3 separate regions of the Homo sapiens genome follow, and regions 1 and 2 are each linked to region 3. Evidence: promoter capture Hi-C in 16 types of primary human blood cells and fetal thymus (Javierre and others, 2016). All regions are on one chromosome and are shown on one strand. Each heading gives the region's core, a stretch centred on a gene start or on the middle of the fragment in contact. The rest is flanking DNA. Distances are from core to core; before and after follow the strand shown. Region 1 overlaps GTF3C3 (general transcription factor IIIC subunit 3). Region 2 overlaps HSPE1-MOB4 (HSPE1-MOB4 readthrough). Region 3 holds the start of NABP1 (nucleic acid binding protein 1).

Region 1 (3,550 bases), core at 113-2,612, 5.1 Mb before region 3:
GAGGAGTCTCCCACTGGTGTGAAGTAATAGTCCATAAAAAAGTATTGTCCGATAAGAAGATAATCTTCACCCATACCTTTTTTTTCCCCATACTTAGAAATATCTGAACTTACTGTATCTTCTTGCTTACTTCAAGTGCAAGAGAAAATAAAAGTAATGCAACCTTTTTAAATTTTTAAGTTCGAAGGCAGATTCTTTTTTTTTTTTTTTTTTTGAGACGGAGTTTCGCTCTTGTTGCCCAGGCTGGAGTGCAGTGGCACGATCTCGGCTCACTGCAACCTCGGCCTTCTGGTTTCAAGCGATTCTCCTGCCTCAGCCTCCCGAGTAGCTGGGACTACAGGCGCCTGCCACCATGCCCGGCTAATTTTTGTATGTTTAGTAGAGACGGGGTTTCACCATGTTGGCCAGGATGGTCTCAAACTCCTGACCTCGTGATCCGCCTGCCTCGGCTTCCCAAAGTACTGGGATTACTTTGCCCGGCCGGCAGATTCTTTAATAATTCATGCGAGTAGTAGGGACTTATCTTTTTATTTATTTTATTTTATTTTATTTTCAGACAGAGTCTGGCTCTGTCACCCATGCTGGAGTGCAGTGACGCGATCTCAGCTCACTGTAACTTCCGCCTCCCGGACTCAAGCAGTCCTCCTACCTCAGCCTCCAAGTAGCTGAGACCACAGGTGTGAGCCATCACACTCTGCTAATTTTTGTATTTTTTGTAGAGACAGGGTTTCTTCATGTTGCCCAGGCCGGTCTCAAACTCCTGAGCTCAAGGGATCCGCCTGTCTCGGCCTCCCAAAGTGGTTGGATTACAGATGTGAGCCACCAAGTCATTTTTTATTTAAAATATTAGGATACAATATGTTCATTAATGAAATTATTAAGATATTTTATTTATTTTTTTTTACAAATGACAGATTGAAGGGTAAGATATAAGTACTTTGAAATGCTTTGACAGTATTCAAATTTAGATTCCATCTACTGTGTATGTGTTCACAGCTCAAGTTTTGTAGGAATAGAAAATTAGGCAAATGCCCTATTCTATAAACTGCCAACCCATGGTCACAAAATGCCCGAGTGGCAAAGCTAGGACTAGAACCAGATACTCTGTGGCTGGGGAGAGCTAAGTCTGCATTATTTTTTGGAATCATTAATTAATTTGCAATCACAGAGTCTTCAGGAAAAAGGCAAGTTATCAGCTGAAGAAAATCCCGATGACTCTGAAGTTCCATCATCATCAGGAATTAACTCTACCAAATCCCAAGACAAAGATGTCAATGAAGGTATGTTAAAATTATGTGCTTCCTGCAATGAATGTTTAGAGTATGTAAGCAAAGTAATTTAGTGAAACATTGTATTTTCATGGCAGTGATACTCTGTTGTTGATTACCTGGTTTTTCAGGAACAGAATGCTTGGTTATATAGTAGGTGCCCAATAAATATTTGTTGAGTTATTGAATACCCTGATGGTTATTTTTTGTGAGCTCTGGTGTTGGAAAAGTGTTTTAAATTGACATCAGTATTTGTTTGGGAGCTTTTTAAGATTATTTTTTAAATTGGCCCTCTCAGTTGGTAACTAATCACTTCCAGACTATACTTCCTCAAATTGTAATGAATTACACTTCGATATAAAGTGGCTTCCAAACCACTGCTTTAGTTACAGGGAGAAAAGATAGAAATGTTAGCGTGGAAGGCAAGTTGGTTGCCCTCATGGAACTTCACACACAGCACAGGTGTCTTGGTAGGCTACCTCATTCTAGCATCCAGTCCTCAGCTTTGCATGTCCAGATATTAAATTTGGTTAGTGCACCCAGACTATTTAAACTCATCGTAGCCTAATTAATTAGTAAGCAAATTTATTAATGTTCAGTGATTGATACCCTTTTCCAGGGATCAGAATGCTGATAATATCTCAGGGTATCCATTTACTACCATATCAAGTTAACTGGGATGCTAAACTGTCAGTTAGAATGTAGCTTCATGTATAGGGTCTGATAACAACTGTCTAGTTCTAGGGGTTAGAAGTACAGTCTGGTTCTTTTCCCTCAAAACAAGTAAGTGTTTACACAGAGAACAGACAGTCATAGCATGGGCAGAAAACAAACAAGATTTGTTCCTACCTCCCTGGACCAAGTGAGGAAAAAAGGGCAAAGAGGAGGGAAAACTGGGGGTTACAGTTTCTTATTCTGCCAGGAAAGTGGGGTGGAAAAGGCAGCTGATAAAAAGGAATGAGATCATGTCCTTTGCAGGGACATGGATGGAGTTGGAAGCCGTTATCCTCAGCAAACCAACACAGGAACAGAAGACCAAACACCGCATGTTCTCACTTATAAGTGGGAGCTGAATGATGAGAACACAGGGACAAAAGGGGGTGAGGAAACAACAGACACTGGGGCCTTTTGGATTAGGGGTGTTGCGGGAGGGAGAGCATCAGGAAGAACAGCTGATAGATGCTGGGCTTAATATCTAGGTGATGGGATGATCTGTGCAGCAAACCACCATGGTACATGTTGACCTATGTAACAAACCTGGACATCCTGCACATGTACTCCTGAACTTAAAAGATGAAGAAAAAAAGGCAGCTGACTGAAGTTGTTCTCACAATTTGTGTGTCCTTCCTTATCTGCTGAAGGGAGGAGCTGCTCTTTTTTCCTCAGGTGTTTAAGTTGCTACTATAGCAGCAGGCACAAGTGGGTGCCTGTCAGTCCTGTTACCTAAAGCTGCTCCCAAAAGCTAGCCATCAGGCCCTAAAAAAGGAGTGAGCTGAGTCCAATTCAGGCTCATGATGAGCAGTCAGGCCCACAAGGACTGGCTGGCTTCAGCTCAGATAATGTCATACATCCTTTTAAGATGTGAAGCTCCTAATTTCCTAGTAAGGAATTGTCCCAGAACTCTACCAAGACTCTTGGTGAGTATGAGCATGTATTCAGAGCAGAAGGGGTCAGTTTTGAACAAGCTTTGGCAGTCAGCTAATTGAAATATATGGTCACTAGTTGTCCTTTTCCTCTGGACAGTACTAAATACACCACTAAATTCTTGCTGTTCACACCGTTCTTACACACTGAAGATAGGATCATCTTTTAATTTCATTTTCAATTCATTTGCTGATATATTAAACTATAATTTTTATATATTGACTTTGTGTTCAGCAACCTTGCTAAATTATTCTTATAGTTTGTATGTAGATTTATTTTGGGTCTTCTATGTATATAATCATGTCATCTGTGACTTAATAATTTTATTTTTTCCTTGCCATCTTTATGCCTTTTGTTTCTTATTACATTGGCTAGGACCTCCAGTAAAATGTTGAACAGAAGTGGTGGCAGTAGGCAACTTTGTCTCATTCTTAGTAACATTCAGTAATTCACCATCAACTGTGTTTGTGGAAAATTTTTGTAGATACTCTTCATGAAATAAAAGATACTCCCTTTCATTTTTAGTTGACTAAGAATTGTTATTAGGAATGGGTATTGAATTTTATCAAATGCTTCGTTCTATCAGGATGGATCATACGATTTTTCTTCTTTTGTTCCTTTGTTCTTTTGTTCCTCTG
Region 2 (3,547 bases), core at 101-2,600, 5.8 Mb before region 3:
TTCAAAAATTCTCTTATCCTTCTGATTTAGTAGGTTTGGATGAGGCCCTGAAATTTTAAGTTTACCAGGCAATTGCAAAGATGAACCAAGCTTTGTGAACTATTACCTTAGATATCAAAACTAATTTGCTGGGTCTTAGGAAAATAGCATTGGAGAATAATGGGAAAGCCATAGCCTTTGAACAGATTCCTTACTCTACAATATATTAGCCACATGTCCTTGGAACGATTTCTTATCTCTTAAGTCAAGGTTTCTCATTGGTAATACAGAAAAATCTGTGCTCCCAAGATTATGATGAGCAAAGCATATTATCTAGCTGTGCGTGAGTAGAGTATGAAATTGATAATCCACTTAGACAATATAAGAAATAACTTTTAGGCATAATTCCAGTATCGAAGTTTGACAAAAAGTAAGCTTTAGTACACCAAAGGCAGTAACACGTGCATAAACGTAAATATACATATAGTGGAAGTACCTACTACTTTACAGATGGGAAGATGATCAAAAGTTGAGATCATTATTCCATGCCATTTAAAACTTTAAATTTTAATTCCTCTCAAAATAAATACGGGACACAACCTTTAAAAGACATTATCAGACTAGTTTATGGATAATTAAACCTAGAAAATAAGTTTGACTACTAAGACAGCTGGTAGCTGATAGTTGAGTTTAAGGGTTGGTAATCAATTCTAGCGTAGGATTCTTTTTTTTAAAGACAGGGTCTCATTCTGTCACCCAGATTGCAGTGTGGTGGCACAATCTCGGCTCACCAGAGCCTTAACCTCCCCACCTCAGCCCCTTGAGTAGCTTTTTGTATTTTTTGTAAAGACAGGGTTTCACCATATTGCCCAGGCTGTCTCGATCTCAAGAGATCTGCCCACCTCGGCCTCCCAAAGTGCTGGGATTACGAGCACAAGCCACCGCACCCAACCAAATTCTAGTGTAGTATTATTGGGTTTGAATCTTAAGTCTTCTCCCTAGCTGCTACAGCTATATCAAGCTATTTATCCTCTGCTTTGACTCAGTTTTGTTAAATTCAACACATGGTGTACTAGGAACTTAAGTGACATACATCATTTGGTACTACCCATTCCCCATACCACAGTGGGTATCACCAGGATTAATTGAAATAATGTGTATTAAGTGCTTAGAATTAACAAAGTAGCAAAGGCTATAAAGGATCAAGTTTTAAACAGTAACATCTGGAGATGGACTGTGTCTGAATCCTGGCTTTGCCACTTACCACTGAGCAACCTTGGTTATTACTTAACCCCTTCTATGCCTTAGCTTTCTCATCTGCAGGTTGAGAACAGTACCTATCTCATAGGGTTGTTGAAAGATTAAACCAATTAATACATGAAAAGCACCTTCAACAGTAACCAGCACCTAGAAAATGCTCCGGTTAGCTATCCTATCACACAGTGCTCACCCCAGAGAGAAGGCACTCAGCCAATGTTAGCTATCATATATATATATATATATATATATATATATATATACACACACACACACACACACACACACACACACACACACGTATATACATGTGTGTATATATCACATATATCATATATGTATATGTATCATATATATACTTTTTTTTTTTCAAAACAGTCTATGTCACCCAGGTTGGAGTGCAGTGGTGCAATCTTAGCTCACTACAACCTCCGCCTCCCAGGTTCAAGCCATTCTCCTGCCTCAGCCTTCCAAGTAGCTGCAATTACTTGCCTTAGATTTTTTTTTTAACCAAATTATGTAGCAGTGTTAAGTTTTTAAAAATGAAATGAGCCGGGCGCGGTGGCTCACGCCTGTAATCCCAGCACTTTGGAAGGCCAAGGCAGGTGGATCATGAGGTCAGAAGATCGAGACCATCCTAACATGGCGAAACCCCGTCTCTACTAAAAATACAAAAAATTAGCAGGGCATGGTGGCAGGCGCCTGTAGCCCAGCTACTTGGGAGGCTGAGGCACGAGAATTGCTTGAACCCGGGAAGCGGAGATTGCAGTGAGCCAAGATCATGCCACTGCACTCCAGCCTGGGCAACAGAGAAACTGTCTCAAAAAAAAAAAAAATGTTCACTCCAGAATTAAATTTTCCTAAAATAAAACAAGACATAAAAAAACACTTGGAGGATACCAGAGCAACTCCAGTATTGCTAAGTGGCCTTAGATACTTGGTCACTGGATGCTGGGCAGCTTCAGGTGAAGATGGTGGTCACTGAGGCTCAGGTAACCATGGAGAGCTTCTCAGCACTGTTCTTTCCAATGCAATACAAAACAAAGCTTAAAAGACGCAATGTATCTGGGAAGTTAATTGGGGTGAAACTATGGATTACAGCTGAGCCAAGGGAAAAATGTACCACAGCTGAGCGGGGTGACCCTGGTGCGCTCACTGCTTTGTCATTGCTGCTGGCCGCCAAGGACGATCACCCCTCAAGGACTATGTGATGCCTTTTTCACGTTGTCTTTCAGAAACTTGATAGGACATCATATGCCTGATATTAAATGCCAGTATCAGGTTAGAAACTACACTGAAGTCTTCCTGTTTCTCATCTCAACTACATTGAGGTCACACTGACTAGGTGAGCATGTGGCTGTTTTCCAACTCTGACAAACTAGTGTCAAATAGAAAAGCATAAATATAACCCATCACCATTAAAAAAAAAAAATAAGGTAATGTCCTAACTTTAATGTACAGAAGTTGATTTTCCGAAATATTGACCAACTCTTAAAGTTCTAAAAAATAAAAAAAGCTGCCAGGTATGGTGGCTCACTCAGGCCTGTGATCCCAGCAGTCTGGGAGGCCAAGGCAGGCATATTGCTTGAGCCCAGAAGGTTCAAGACCAGCCTGGACAACATGGCAAAACCCCATCTCTACAAAAGATACAAAAATTAGCAGGGCATGGTGGTGCATGCCTGTAATCCCAGTCACTCAAGGAGGCGGACGTGGGAGGATCACCTGTGCCTGGGAAGAAGGTGGAGGCTACAGTGAGCCATGACAGTGCCAGTGCACTCCAACCTGGGTGACAAAGTGAGACTGTCTCCACAAAAAAAAAAAAAGAAAAAAATGGAAAGTATAATTCTTCCCTCAATTTACATGGTACTTGTGTACCTGGGAATTCAGTATACATTAAACCATGCAAAAAATGCTCTGTATTTATATAAATTGGAGTTAGGAATGAAGACCTGTATCCACAAAGTATTGAACACCTTAAGACCTGTAACTCGTTAGCTTGTTATATTTGAAATCTGAATGTTGCTGTGGTGGCTCACGCTTGTAATCCCAGCACTTTGGGAGTCTGAGACTAGCCTGGGCAACATGGCAAAACCTGTCTCTACTAAAAACACAAAAATTAGCTGGGCATGGTGGTGCACGCCTGTAATCCCAGGTACTCTGGAGGCTGAGGGAGGAGAATCACTTGAACCCAGAAGGCGGAGGTTGCAGTAAGCCAAGATTGAACCACTGCACTCCAGCCTGGGTGACAGAGTGAGAATCCGTCTCAGAAAAAAAAAAAAAAAAAGTAAATCCATGGCTTGGTATCAGTATC
Region 3 (3,492 bases), core at 641-3,140:
GTATCCCTTTGGTTTTTGCGCAACATCCACCTTACAGCAGAAGACACAAGAAATCATTTTGGAGAATGAGCCTTCCAGATACTGTAAAGTTTCCCTCTTTTTCCAAGTACAAATTTGACATATCACAGAATATGCTAAATCCTTTACCTATAATTTTCATTTATGTCCACATTTCTAAATAACATATGTAAAATACTGGCCAGGATTTCAAGTCATTAAAAATGGAGAAGGGGTGGGAAACAACTGAGTGGCAACTACACTAGAGAAAACAACTTATAAAAAAGAAAAAATATGGACTATACCAGTCTCCTAAAAAGACTCACTGACTCAGAATAGAACTAAAAATCTATGCCGGGCGTGGTGGCTCACGCCTGTAATCCCAGCACTTTGGGAGGTTGGGGCGCGCGGATCACTTGAGGTCAGGAGTTGGAGACCAGCCTGGGCAACACTCTGAAACCCCGTCTCTGCTAAAAATACAAAACTTAGCTGGGCGTGGTGGCACACGCCTGTAGTCCCAGCTACTTGGGAGGCTGAGGCACGAGAATCTCTTGAACCCGCGAGGCGGAGGCTGCAGTGAGGAGAGATCACGCCACTGCACTCCAGCTTGGCGACAGAGCGAGACTCGGTCCCAAAAAATAATAATAATTAAAAATCTACTTAACCTGTAAACCGGGGTAGAGGCGCGGATTTCCCAGCTGAAACCGACTGCCTTTCACTGCAAAGGTCTGTTACATCCCAGCGCTGCCCACCACCCAAAGTTAACACCAAAGGAGTTCAAAACTCCTCAAGAGTGGCCCACAGAAAAGGCGGGGGACTTCAGGGCTTGCCAAGATCCCAGGAGCCGGCCAATCCCGATTCTGCAGACTGTTAGGTCCCCCGACTTTTTTGCACACCTACCCTCTGGTCAACCGAATAATATCCCCTGGCTGTATAAGACCTCCGATCTCATCCCACACGGAAATAGTGATGCTGCCCGTTTTATCTGCTACTTTGCACGATCTCACTTCATGGCCGTCTTTGGTTTTGGTCACGCGTCCTGTGAGGATTTAAAAATCAAAGGGAGGGGTTGTTAGATAATGAGGACATCCAGAAAGGCTAACTCCTCCTCCGGTATTTTAATACATCTGGAAGGTGGGAAGTGACCAAGCCCAGGGCTCCCGCCTCAGGTAGGATCCGATCTCGGGCGGAGGCCACTAGAGCCACGTGGGTGGGGGAGGGGAGGGAGGAGGAGGGGAGCCCCGGGCGCGCAGCGGCCGGCGCCCCTGTCTCCCGCCCCGGGAGGCACAGCGGGCGGTGGAGTAGGCTGCAAACCCCACTTACCTATCTCCAGGACAATAAAGACGACATTTAAGTTTTTCAGTCCGGGCTTAATATCTCTTATAAAAATAAGTGGGTCGTTGACCCTATTCATATTGGGACAGGCGCGGCTACGGCTGCGGAGACGCGAGTGGGCAGGGCGGGGTCAAAGCTTCCCACCCTCCCGGGACAGGGGCGAAGGCAGAGGGGCGACCTTGGGCAGGGGTGGCGAGAGAAGGGGCAGAAAGCCGTTAGTCAGGGACCGGGCAAACCAGCCCGGACAGCACTGAGCCTAAAAAAAGAAAAAAAAAAAAAAAAAAAAAAAAGGCTCACAAGTTCTAAAGAAAAAAAGGCGAACCACTCCGCACACCAACCCCGCTCCCAACCGGGCGACAGGAAGGCAAGCGTACTAACTGCCCCGTTCTTTGGATAAAAGGAAAAAAAAACGCAGTGAGGGGACACTTCTGCCCTGAGTCCCGCTCACTCACACGGGCGCGCGCCCAGCCTGTCCCGGGCTCCGGGAAGGAACGGGCTGTGACAGCGAAACGGGAGCGGAGACAGAACACCGCACACCCAGCGTCCCAAACAGCGACTGATGAACACGCCCGCGCGCCGGCAGGACCCTCGGCCCGCCCCTCCCCTTGTGAAGTCACGCTGCGTCGGCACGCCTGCTGCCACGCCCGCCTGGTGCTGGGGAGGGGAAGCAAAGGGGCGGGACCCGGCCGCCGCAGCCCGCAGAGCTTCCCTCGCTCCTCCCCGGGGGCTGTCAGCGCGGGCTCCGCCCCCTCGTCCTTCCAATCGCTCTCGGCCCCGCCTCCCCCGCCCTCCCGTTCTCCACCCACTTCAGCTGTCGCCGCGCAGCAGCAGTTCTGTTCGGTTTCGCCTTCCTGCTGTGCAGTCTTTTGACGCTTGCTGTCCAACTTTGGAGTTTTCTTGCCTTTTTTTCTCTCAGAGTTGAGCCCCTGCCCGGGCCCTTTAGTCCCTCGGTCACGAGGAACGGTAGAGTTTAGAACCTGTGAGTACGTTAGAAAGTTCGCAGTCGAGGAAGAACAGGGTTCGGGCAAGGGCAGCTGGTCCGGTACCAAGGGAAAACAGGCTGGGATGGTGAAGGCGTCAGTGGCTACAAGGCTGGAAGTTTAGCACCAGAAGGGAATTTGGAGATCAATTCAACCGCCTCATTTCAGGCATACTTAAATTGAAACCCAGAAAGATGAGGTAATTTGCAGAAGGTCACCCAGCAACCCCTGAGCAGGCAGGACTGCAACACAAATGTCTGACGTGGGCTTCCACTGTGTAATGCTAAGCAGATAGGACGTAAATTCCTTTGCAGACTTCTCATTTTTCCTTACCCCCTGCCTCTCATATTACACACCTTCCCCATTTAGCTTTTCTTCTTTTACTTTGCACTTGCTTTTGTACATCTAAAAGGAATTAATTATTCAACAGCAGTGGGAACCCTTGAAACATAATCTGGAAAAAAAGATTAATAAAGTTTTTTTTATGTCGCGTAGTGAAAAGAGCATGTGCTTTAGAGACAAACCTGGGCTCCAGCTATTTACTTGTGAGAGCTTTAGGTCAATTGGCTTTTATTACAGCTTTTTAACCATAATAAAATGGGGATCCCTGCCTAGCAGAAGATTGATTAAATGGATCATAAATTGTCCAACTAGTGCCTAGCAAATAGTACATACTCAGTATTTTCCCCTTTTTAATCCCCGTTTTACAGGCGATGGAACTCACCAGAGACCAGATAGCTAGAGAATGGCTGAGCTGGGTTTTAAATCTAGTCAATCTTGACCCCAGAGCTCTCCAGCCTAAAGGTAATGTTTAGACTTAACTTCCAGTGGTGTCATTATAAGAGTCAAAAACAGACTGAAGAAATAAAATAGCAGAATAAAGTAGTGGGGCATTAAAGAATCATCTAGTTAATTCTTGGTGATGATAACAGAAATGTTGGGAAAAGTGTCAGAAGCCTTAATTTTCTCCCCATTCTTTCTGAGTATCTTTAGATCAACCACCACTTCCCAAGTATTTGCAAACAAGCAGCATAGATATTATAGCCCTAGAAAGAGTTGGAAACATTATCACAACATTAGCAAGAGAGTCAAGGCATTTTTAAGGAAACAGAAGCTTCCATTTCATGAACTAATAAAGCCCAAGGTGCCAAAGACACTGATGTCATACTGGAAAGTGGTG

Evidence for each region. The method cuts DNA at HindIII sites, captures the fragments that hold promoters and counts their contacts. A CHiCAGO score of 5 or more calls a contact.
Region 1: a fragment that was not itself captured here is called in contact with the fragment with the promoter of NABP1 in region 3 in 2 of 17 cell types (naive CD8 T cells and non-activated CD4 T cells); the score reaches 11.0 in naive CD8 T cells.
Region 2: a fragment that was not itself captured here is called in contact with the fragment with the promoter of NABP1 in region 3 in 1 of 17 cell types (fetal thymus); the score reaches 5.4 in fetal thymus.

Annotation. Positions count from the first base shown.
Region 1 is chr2:196,795,527-196,799,076 of GRCh38, reverse strand. It overlaps GTF3C3 (general transcription factor IIIC subunit 3), which reads left to right. Exons shown (of 18, transcript NM_012086.5): 2 at 1,169-1,280. Among named protein-coding and RNA genes, the nearest start is that of GTF3C3, 2.4 kb to the left of the region's middle. The HindIII fragment of the contact is 3,187 bases long and covers 1-2,955 here.
Region 2 is chr2:197,503,603-197,507,149 of GRCh38, reverse strand. The region is part of intron 2 of HSPE1-MOB4 (HSPE1-MOB4 readthrough); the gene reads right to left. Among named protein-coding and RNA genes, the nearest start is that of HSPE1-MOB4, 5.0 kb to the right of the region's middle. The HindIII fragment of the contact is 1,868 bases long and covers 417-2,284 here.
Region 3 is chr2:191,676,534-191,680,025 of GRCh38, reverse strand. It overlaps NABP1 (nucleic acid binding protein 1), which reads right to left and starts at 1,890. Exons shown (of 6, transcript NM_001031716.5): 1 at 1,321-1,890; 2 at 898-1,036. The coding sequence starts at 1,411. RefSeq lists enhancers at 1-719, 1,547-2,049, 2,259-2,338 and silencers at 1,189-1,248, 1,849-2,198. The HindIII fragment of the contact is 1,958 bases long and covers 1,471-3,428 here.